Linked DNA regions of Homo sapiens: all the other regions are linked to region 1. Evidence: promoter capture Hi-C in 16 types of primary human blood cells and fetal thymus (Javierre and others, 2016). All regions are on one chromosome and are shown on one strand. Each heading gives the region's core, a stretch centred on a gene start or on the middle of the fragment in contact. The rest is flanking DNA. Distances are from core to core; before and after follow the strand shown.

What was found. The method cuts DNA at HindIII sites, captures the fragments that hold promoters and counts their contacts. A CHiCAGO score of 5 or more calls a contact.
Region 2: a fragment that was not itself captured here is called in contact with the fragment with the promoter of NOM1 in region 1 in 1 of 17 cell types (erythroblasts); the score reaches 5.1 in erythroblasts.
Region 3: a contact is called between a fragment that was not itself captured here and the fragment with the promoter of NOM1 in region 1, in 1 of 17 cell types (megakaryocytes). The highest score is 5.9, in megakaryocytes.

What each region holds. Positions count from the first base shown.
Region 1 is chr7:156,948,335-156,951,034 of GRCh38, forward strand. NOM1 (nucleolar protein with MIF4G domain 1) reads left to right here and starts at 1,378. Exons shown (of 11, transcript NM_138400.2): 1 at 1,378-2,390. The coding sequence starts at 1,404. RefSeq lists an enhancer at 530-1,058 and silencers at 1,119-1,468, 1,749-1,798. The HindIII fragment of the contact is 6,978 bases long and covers 353-2,700 here.
Region 2 is chr7:157,145,320-157,148,087 of GRCh38, forward strand. The region is part of intron 1 of UBE3C (ubiquitin protein ligase E3C); the gene reads left to right. Among named protein-coding and RNA genes, the nearest start is that of UBE3C, 7.8 kb to the left of the region's middle. The HindIII fragment of the contact is 1,878 bases long and covers 441-2,318 here.
Region 3 is chr7:157,191,668-157,194,395 of GRCh38, forward strand. The region is part of intron 10 of UBE3C (ubiquitin protein ligase E3C); the gene reads left to right. It also overlaps the pseudogene RPS27AP12 and the pseudogene LOC777650. Among named protein-coding and RNA genes, the nearest start is that of UBE3C, 54 kb to the left of the region's middle. The HindIII fragment of the contact is 1,259 bases long and covers 630-1,888 here.

The sequences.
Region 1 (2,700 bases), core at 128-2,627:
TAAATTTATATTAAATAAATTTTATATTTAAAAAAATTCGTAAAACCTATAAGGAAAATGGACAAAGGCCATAAACAGAGGAGGAAATACAAATGGCCAGTGAACAAAGACACCCACTCTCATCAGGAACTAAATGACAAGATGCCATTTTGAGCTGACAAGTTGACAAAAATTAAATCATTTTAAAGTCAAGGACGGGCCGGGCGCGGTGGCTTGCCTGTAATCCCAGCACTTTGGTCCGCCATTGCACTCCGGCCTGGGCAACAGAGTGAGACTCGGTCTCAAGAAAAAAAAAAGAAAAAAAATTAAATTAAATTAAATTAAGTCAAGGGTGGGAACTCTGTGGAAATGAAGCTTCTGAAGCTGTCCGGGAAGAGAAGCGGCCCCTGGTCAGGCCGAGAACCCCACAGCAGCAGCCCCGTCTTCCCCCAGCTCACTGCTAGGCGAGGCTGCTCCTGCGCCTCCGGGCTTCCCAAAAATCCAGACGCAAACTGCGCGGCCTCTGCGTTCGCTTCCCGGTTCAAGTTACCCAGTAAAGAGGAACCTCAAACGCTCTGCCCTCGGGGCCCAGCGTCCAAACCCAGCCTGGGCAGGGCCGGCTCCTCAGGGGTCCTCGGCCGCCTGGGGGCCACAGGCGTCTCCCTGGTCCGTATCCAGAGCCTGCTTCTCAGGAGAACGCTGGCTCTGGGGCCAGTCCTAACCCACGAGGGCTCCTCTCGACCACATCTGCAAAGGCCCTATTTCCAAATAAGGTCGCATTCCTGGGTCCTGGGCGGACACGAACCTGGGGCCCGCGCATCCCAGCGTCGTCGCCGCCGCCAACCTCCGGCACCGCGCCGACCCGCGCGGAGTCTCCCCTCCATCATACGCGAGGATTTCCCTTTGGAGTCTCGCTCTGTCGCCCAGGCTGGAGTGCAATGGCGCCATTTCGGCTCACTGCAACCTCCGCCTCCGTGGTTCAAGCGATTCTCCTGCCTCAGCCTCCGAGTAGCTGGGATTACAGGCGCGTGCCCCCACGCTCAGCTAATTTTTGTAGGGGGGTGGGTGGGTTTCACCAGGTTGGCCAGGCTGGTCTCGAACTCCTGACTTCAGGTGATCCACCCGTCTCGGCCTCCCAAAGTGCTGGGATTACAGGCGTGAGCCACCGCGCCCGGCCGGATTTCCCTTTTAAATGTGAAGGCACCTCCATGCTCATCGCGAGCCTGACGTCCACGCGGCGCCCACCCGCGGGCGCGCCTGCCCCGGGCGCCACCTGCCCGGCTGCCCCCGCACCCGGCTCCGCGCAGCTCTGCACGCTGTCGCCCTCCGGCCAGCAGGGGGCGCCGCCCGCCCGCCCCGCGCAGCCGCCTCTTCCCCGGAAGTCCCGCCTCGGCCGGAAGTCGTGCGTCCACGCGTTTCGAAAGATGGCGGCGTCCAGGAGCGCGGGAGAGGCCGGCCCGGGCGGCTCCCAGGGACGCGTGGTCCGCATGAAGCGCAGAGGCGGGCGCGGGCCGCGCCGCGGTCCTGCTGGCGGTGGGGAGAAGGCCCTGAAGAGGCTGAAGCTAGCGGTGGAGGAGTTCGTGCACGCGACTTCGGAAGGCGAGGCTCCCGGGGGTTGCGAGGGGCGCGGCGCCCCGGTGAGCTTTCGCCCGGGAGGGAGAAAAAGCCGTAAGGAACTGAGGAAGGAGAAGCGGCACCTGCGGAAAGCACGCCGGCTGCAGAGGACGGCGGGCCCCGAACAGGGTCCCGGCCTGGGAGGCCGAAGCGGAGCCGAAGAAGCCAGCGGTCACCGGCAGGACACGGAGGAGCGCGCCCGCCCAGCCCCTAGTCGGGACCCCTCGCCTCCCAGGAAGCCGCGGCCGTCCCGGGTCAAGGCCAAGGCCACGGCCGCCACCGCAAAGACCAGACCCTCCGCAGCCGCCACCGCCGCTGCCCGGAAACGGGCGCTTTTAGCGGCGAACGAGGAGGAGGACCGAGAGATCCGAAAGCTGGAGCGTTGCCTCGGTTTGAACAAGCGCAAAAAGAAGGACGGCAGCAGCTCCGTGCCGCTGAGCTTTGCACGCGACGGTCTTGACTATATTCTGGGAGCCCTGGAGTCTGGGAAAAATAGCGGCTTGTACGACAGCAGTGGTGAGGAGGAGGAAGATGCCGGACAGACACTCCCCGAAAGTGACTTAGAGAGTGACTCCCAGGACGAAAGTGAGGAGGAGGAGGAGGGAGACGTAGAAAAGGAAAAGAAGGCGCAGGAAGCAGAAGCGCAGAGCGAGGACGACGACGAGGATACAGAAGAGGAACAGGGGGAAGAAAAGGAAAAGGGAGCGCAGGAGAAAAGGAGGGGGAAGAGAGTCCGTTTTGCAGAAGATGAAGAAAAGAGTGAAAATTCCTCGGAGGACGGTGACATAACGGATAAGGTATCGTGTGAACACTCTCTAGGCCCTCTGGGATTTCCTTCAAAATAACGGGACAGGGAATGGGGCGTGAGGCAGAAATGACACAGACTTGGTGTCTTGATAATGGTTTCAGCTGAATGTGAGTAAATCGAGTACGTTACTCTATTCGGTCTTCTTTCATGTTTTTAAATTTTCATAATGTAAAGTTTAGGAGAAAAGCAATATAGAGACATTTTTATCCCGGGGACTTAAGGGCCATTTCCACAGTGCAGCATCTTCATTCTGTGTTTACCAGCCCAGGTCTCTAAACCTGTTAACCCTACCTCATCTG
Region 2 (2,768 bases), core at 130-2,629, 200 kb after region 1:
CCAGCCTGGTCAACATGGTGATACTCTATCTCTACTAAAAATACAAAAATTAGCCAGGCGTGGTGACAGGTGCCTGTAATTGCAGCTACTCAGGAGGCTGAGGCAGGAGAATTGCTTGAACCCGAGAGGCAGAGATTGCAGTTAGCTGAGATCACGCCATTGCACTCCAGCCTAGGTGACGAGAGTGATACTCTTTTAAAAAAGAAAAAAGGAAGAAATCCTCATTGCATATTCATCCATCCCTCCCATCCCTGTAACACCTGGCAACCACTGATCTTTTTACTGTTTCTACTCTAGCCTTTTCCAGAATGTCATATAGTTGGAATCATATACTATGTAATCTTTTCAGATTGGTTTCTTTCACTTAGTACTATGCATTTAAGGCTCTTTTCATGGCTTGACAGTTCATTTCTTTTTACTTTATTTTTTATCAATTAATAAGCTTTTTTTTTAGAGTGGTTTACGGTTTACAGAATAATTGATGGGAAACTATAATAGAGTCCTCAAAACCTCCTCTCCGCTGCACGCTGTTTCCTTTGTTATTTACATCTTGTATCTGTGTGGTACATTTGTGACATTGGAGAACTATTGAATTTTAATGAAGTCCAGCTCACCAGTGTTTTTTTCATGGATCTTGCTTCTCGCGTTGTGTCTAAAAAGTCATTACCAAAGCCAAGGTAACCTAGATTTTCTCGTATTTTCTAGTAGTTTTATAATTTTGTATTTTACATTTAGGTCTCTGATCCATTTTGAGTTAATTTATGTGAAGGATATAAAATCTGTGTCTAGATTTTTAATTTTTGAAGTTTTTTTGTTTGTGGATGTCCAGTTAGCACCATTTCTGAAAAGACATTCCCCAACTCCATTGAATGCCTGCCTTTGCTCCTTTGTCAAAGATCAGTTGGCTATATTTTTATGGATCTATTTCTTTTTTTTTTTTGAGACGAAGTCTCGCTCTGTCTCCCAGGCTGGAGTGCAGTGGCGCAATCTCGGCTCACTGCAACCTCTGTCAAGCAGTTCTCCGGCCTCAGCCTACCGAGTAGCTAGGATTACAGGTGTGCACCACCACACCTGGCTACTCTAGTACAGACGGGGGTTTCACCATGTTGGTCAGGCTGGTCTCGAACTCCTGACCTCGTGATCTGCCCGCCTGGGCGTCCCAAAGTGCTGGGATTACAGGCATGAGCCCCTGCGTCCGGCCTTTACGATCTGTTTCTAAGCTCTGTTATGGCTTTATTCTCTCCTCCATTGATCTCTCTCCCTTTTGTCAATACCATACCATCTTGATTACTGTAACAGATCTGTAGTAAACTGTACTACTTAGTATATATATTAAACTAAACTTTTTTTTAATTTGAGAGGGAGCCTCCTGTTGCCCAGGCTGGAGTGCAGTGTTGTGACCTCGGCTCACTGCAAACTCTGCCTTCTGGGTTCAAGTGGTTCTTCTGCCTCAGCATCCTGAGTAGCTGGGTGGGCATGTGCCACCACACCTGGTTAATTTTTGTATTTTTAGTAGAAACTGGATTTCACCATGTTGGCCAGGCTGGTCTTGAACTCCTGACCTGAAGTGATCCGCCTGCCTCAGCCTCCCAAAGTGCTGGGGTTACGGGAGTGAGACACCGCGCCCAACCATAGTAAGCATTGAAGTCTGGTAGTGTGAGTCCTTCGACTTCCTTCTTCTTTAGTATTGTGTTGGCTATTGTGGATCTTTTGCCTCTCCATAAGAGTCAGTTTGTTGATATTCACAAAAAAAACCTGTGGAATTTTGATTGGGATTGTGCTGAATTGGTAGATCAAGTTGGGAAAAACTAAAATCTTGACAGTGTTGAGCCTTCCTATCCATGAATATGGAATATCTCTTAATTTGTTTAGTTCTTTTATTTCTTTCATTGGTTATATAATTTTCCTTATATATACCTTATACCTATTTTGTTAGATTTATACCTAAGCGTTTATTTTTAAGGGGTGCTAATGTGAATGGTATTGTGTTTCAGTTTCAAATTCCAGTTCATTGCTTATTTGTAGAGAAGCAATTGACTTTCATGTACTAACCTTATGTCCTGAAATCTTGCTATAATCACTTCTTAGTTCCAGGAGTGGTTTTTTGGTTGATACTTGGAATTTCCTGCACAGATAATCATTTCATTTGCAACCAAAGACAGTTTTATTTCTTCCTTCCTGATCTGTATGCCTTTTTTTTCTTTTTTCTTTTCTAAGACCATCAGAAAGCAATGTGTTTTATTGTCTTACTGCATTAGGTAGGATTATAGTTGAAAAGGAGTGGTGAGAACTTGCCTTGTTCTTAATCTTAGTGGGAAAGCTTTGAGTTTCTCATCATGAAGTATGATGTTTGGTGGGTTTTTTGGTAGATATTCTTTATCAAATTGGGGAAATTCCCCTCTATTCCTAGTTTGCAGAATTTTATCATGAATGAAGGTTGGGTTTTGTCAGATGCTTTTTCTGTATCTGTTAATGTTATGTGATTTTCCTTCTGCAGCTTGTGGATATGATGGATCACATTAAGTCATTTTAGAATATTGAGCCCGTCTTGCGTATCTGGAATAAATCCCACTTGACTGTGATGCATAATTCTTTGTATACGATGTTAGATTGAGCTTGTTGATATTTTGTTCAGGATTTTTGCATCTCTTTTGATGAGGGACATCAATTTAGGGTGTTTTTGTGATGTCTTTGTCTGGTTTGGTATTAGGGTGATACTGGCCTTATGGAATGAGGATACTCTAGGGCCTACCAAAACCAATTACTAT
Region 3 (2,728 bases), core at 9-2,508, 240 kb after region 1:
ATGCTCTTTAGCTCTGAGAGATTTATAGCTTCATATCTTATACTTTAATAATTTGGGATAAAATGATTACACAGATGACTTCAAAGCAGAAAAATACAGATTTGTTTTTCATTGTATGTGTAGAATTAAATATATATACCGTCCATGTGTTTGTAAACAAGTTTTTATAATATTTTGGAAAAAATATTGAGGATGTGCCTGGAGAGAGAAGTAAATTTTGTCTATAATTTCATAGCTGCTTTTATTATCAGTGATATTTTCATTATAATCAATAGAATTAATAAGCTATTGATTCATGTTAAAAATTGCATTCTCTTTCATGAAGTTCAAATAACATTGATGAGCTTTTAAACATTTCAGCACATAGTGATCTTAAAATTAAATGTATTTTGAAATCCTATCTAGATTATAAACTAATTTCCACTAGCTGTTGTTAGACACATCAAATAAATAAAATAGACTTGCCTTCGTCAGCTTCAGCAATATCATTCATAGTTCTGAATCTTCTAAGAATTCTTAGAACATTTGTGAATGATAATTGTTTCCCGGGAAATATGAGTACACTTGGAAGAAGCATATTCCACCAAAGTGATTCTAAATCCCTACCACGTTTTTAAAGTTTTCTTTTAAGCTTGTTAAGAAATAGTAAGAGAAGGGGCTTCCTTTTCGATCCGCCATCTGCGGTGGAGCCGCCACCAAAATGCAGATTTCCATAAAAACCCTTACGGGGAAGACCATCACCCTCAAGGTTGAACCCTTGGATATGATAGAAAATGTAAAGGCCAAGATCCAGGATAAGGAAGGAATTCCTCCTGATCAGCAAAGACTGATCTTTGCTGGCAAGCAACTGGAAGATGGATGTACTGTCTGACTACAACATTCAAAAGGAGCTTACTCTTCATCTTGTGTTGAGACTTCGTGGTGGTGCTAAGAAAAGGAAGGAGTCTTACCCCACTCCCAAGAAGAATAAGCGCAAGAGAAAGAAGGGGAAGCTGGCTGTCCTGAAGTATTAGAAGGTGGATGAGAATGACAAAATGAGCTGCCTTCGTCGAGAGTGCCCTTCTGATGAATGTGGTGCTGGAGTGTTTATGGCAAGTCACTTTGACAGACATTATTGTGGCAAATGTTGTCTGACTACTGCTTCAACAAACCAGAAGACAAGTAACTGCGTATGAGTTAATAAAAGACATGAACTTAAAAAAAAAAAAAAGAAGGGATTATCAAAGAAGACATTTGAGGTAGTGAATGCCACTTTCCCCCATTTTAATTTAAACTGTAGCATGAGGGAAAGTATGTTTTTTGAATCTGTAAATCTTTTAATTAAAGAAAATCAGTTGCCAGTAAGAAGGGCTGGCTGTTTAAATTGGTTCTGGTGTCAATGCTGGAATGCTAGCGCGCCTGAGTGTCTAAGGCTTACCTCCTACTCTTAGCTCCTAGTTTGTGAAGAGCAATTTTTAGCAGCTTGTCTCCAGACGAAATACACCTTAAAATTTTTATTAGTAAGGACATTGGAATTTATTTTGAATCTTGCATTATCTGATGCAAATTATTATATATCTGTTTTATTGCTTTTTATGGCATTAGAAGTGTCCAGTAATATTTTTTTAAAAAGAAAAATTTCAGAAGAACAAATTATTGCCTTTGTACTTGTGTGCTATAAGAGTTCGACAGATCATTGGGTGTCTCGCTGTTTCTTTTACCTGTGGCACCTGGACTTAGAGGGGAATTCTCAGAGGATGCCATGCTGTGGTGGCCTTGACTCCTTGTGTGGGAGCCAGTGTCTTCCATTGTGTTCTCTTTCATAACTCAAGAGAGTCCCCGTGGAAAACTGGCCTGAATTTATGACCCGGCTTACTGATTAACTCATAGGATTGTTACAGCTAAATAAAGCTTAATGAGTAATTTTTAATCTATCCCACTATGTGGGAGAAGAATATCACTTCTTTACATTTTAGAAGTAGAGCCCCAGACTAAATAACCTTCAGAAATTTGTCTTTTTTTTTTTTTTTTGGTGAAAACATTCTTTATTAGTAAGCAGACATTTGAAACTTTTTGATTACATGCATCATGCAAAATGACTGACCTCACACATGGTTGTCTGTTCATTGTGACATCTTTTTTGAGATGATTACAAATTTAAGATGACTGCAGTAGTAAAAATAATTCATGAAAATGACTCTCAATGAAGCAAAACACTACATAGCACACATGAAATACTGTTCATCCCTCCTGGATGTTTAATTCTCTCCTAACGTAAATCTCTATTTTGGAAGACTATTATTTACAAAAATGGCAGTTGTTTTTGTATGTGCATCTATAGGCACTGAACTGATATGAACAAAATTTCAAATAATTTTACAAGGTTTGGTTGTTTTTTCCTGTTTTGTTAATCCAAAACAGGACAATGCCCTTTGATTTACAATGTTCAGTTCTTTTAAGAAATCATTTTCTTTGGAAGATGATTTTGACCCATGAAAAAGTTGTTTTACCCCTGGTAATCTTTTTGAAATGGGGCTGGCTGTTATACATTATACAGGTTGTTTTCAGTTAAGTGAAAAGGAGTTGGGCTTGTCTTGAGAAGAATTCCTCTAAATTATGGCACTGAGAAAACTTCTCTGCAGTGGTGGGCTCACCACTTCCATCCTGTGGTAGTTCTGGTAGCACTCCTGGTATGAAAACCCTAGCACAGGTAATTTCACCTCTTTGAAATAAGCAGTGATCCTGGAGA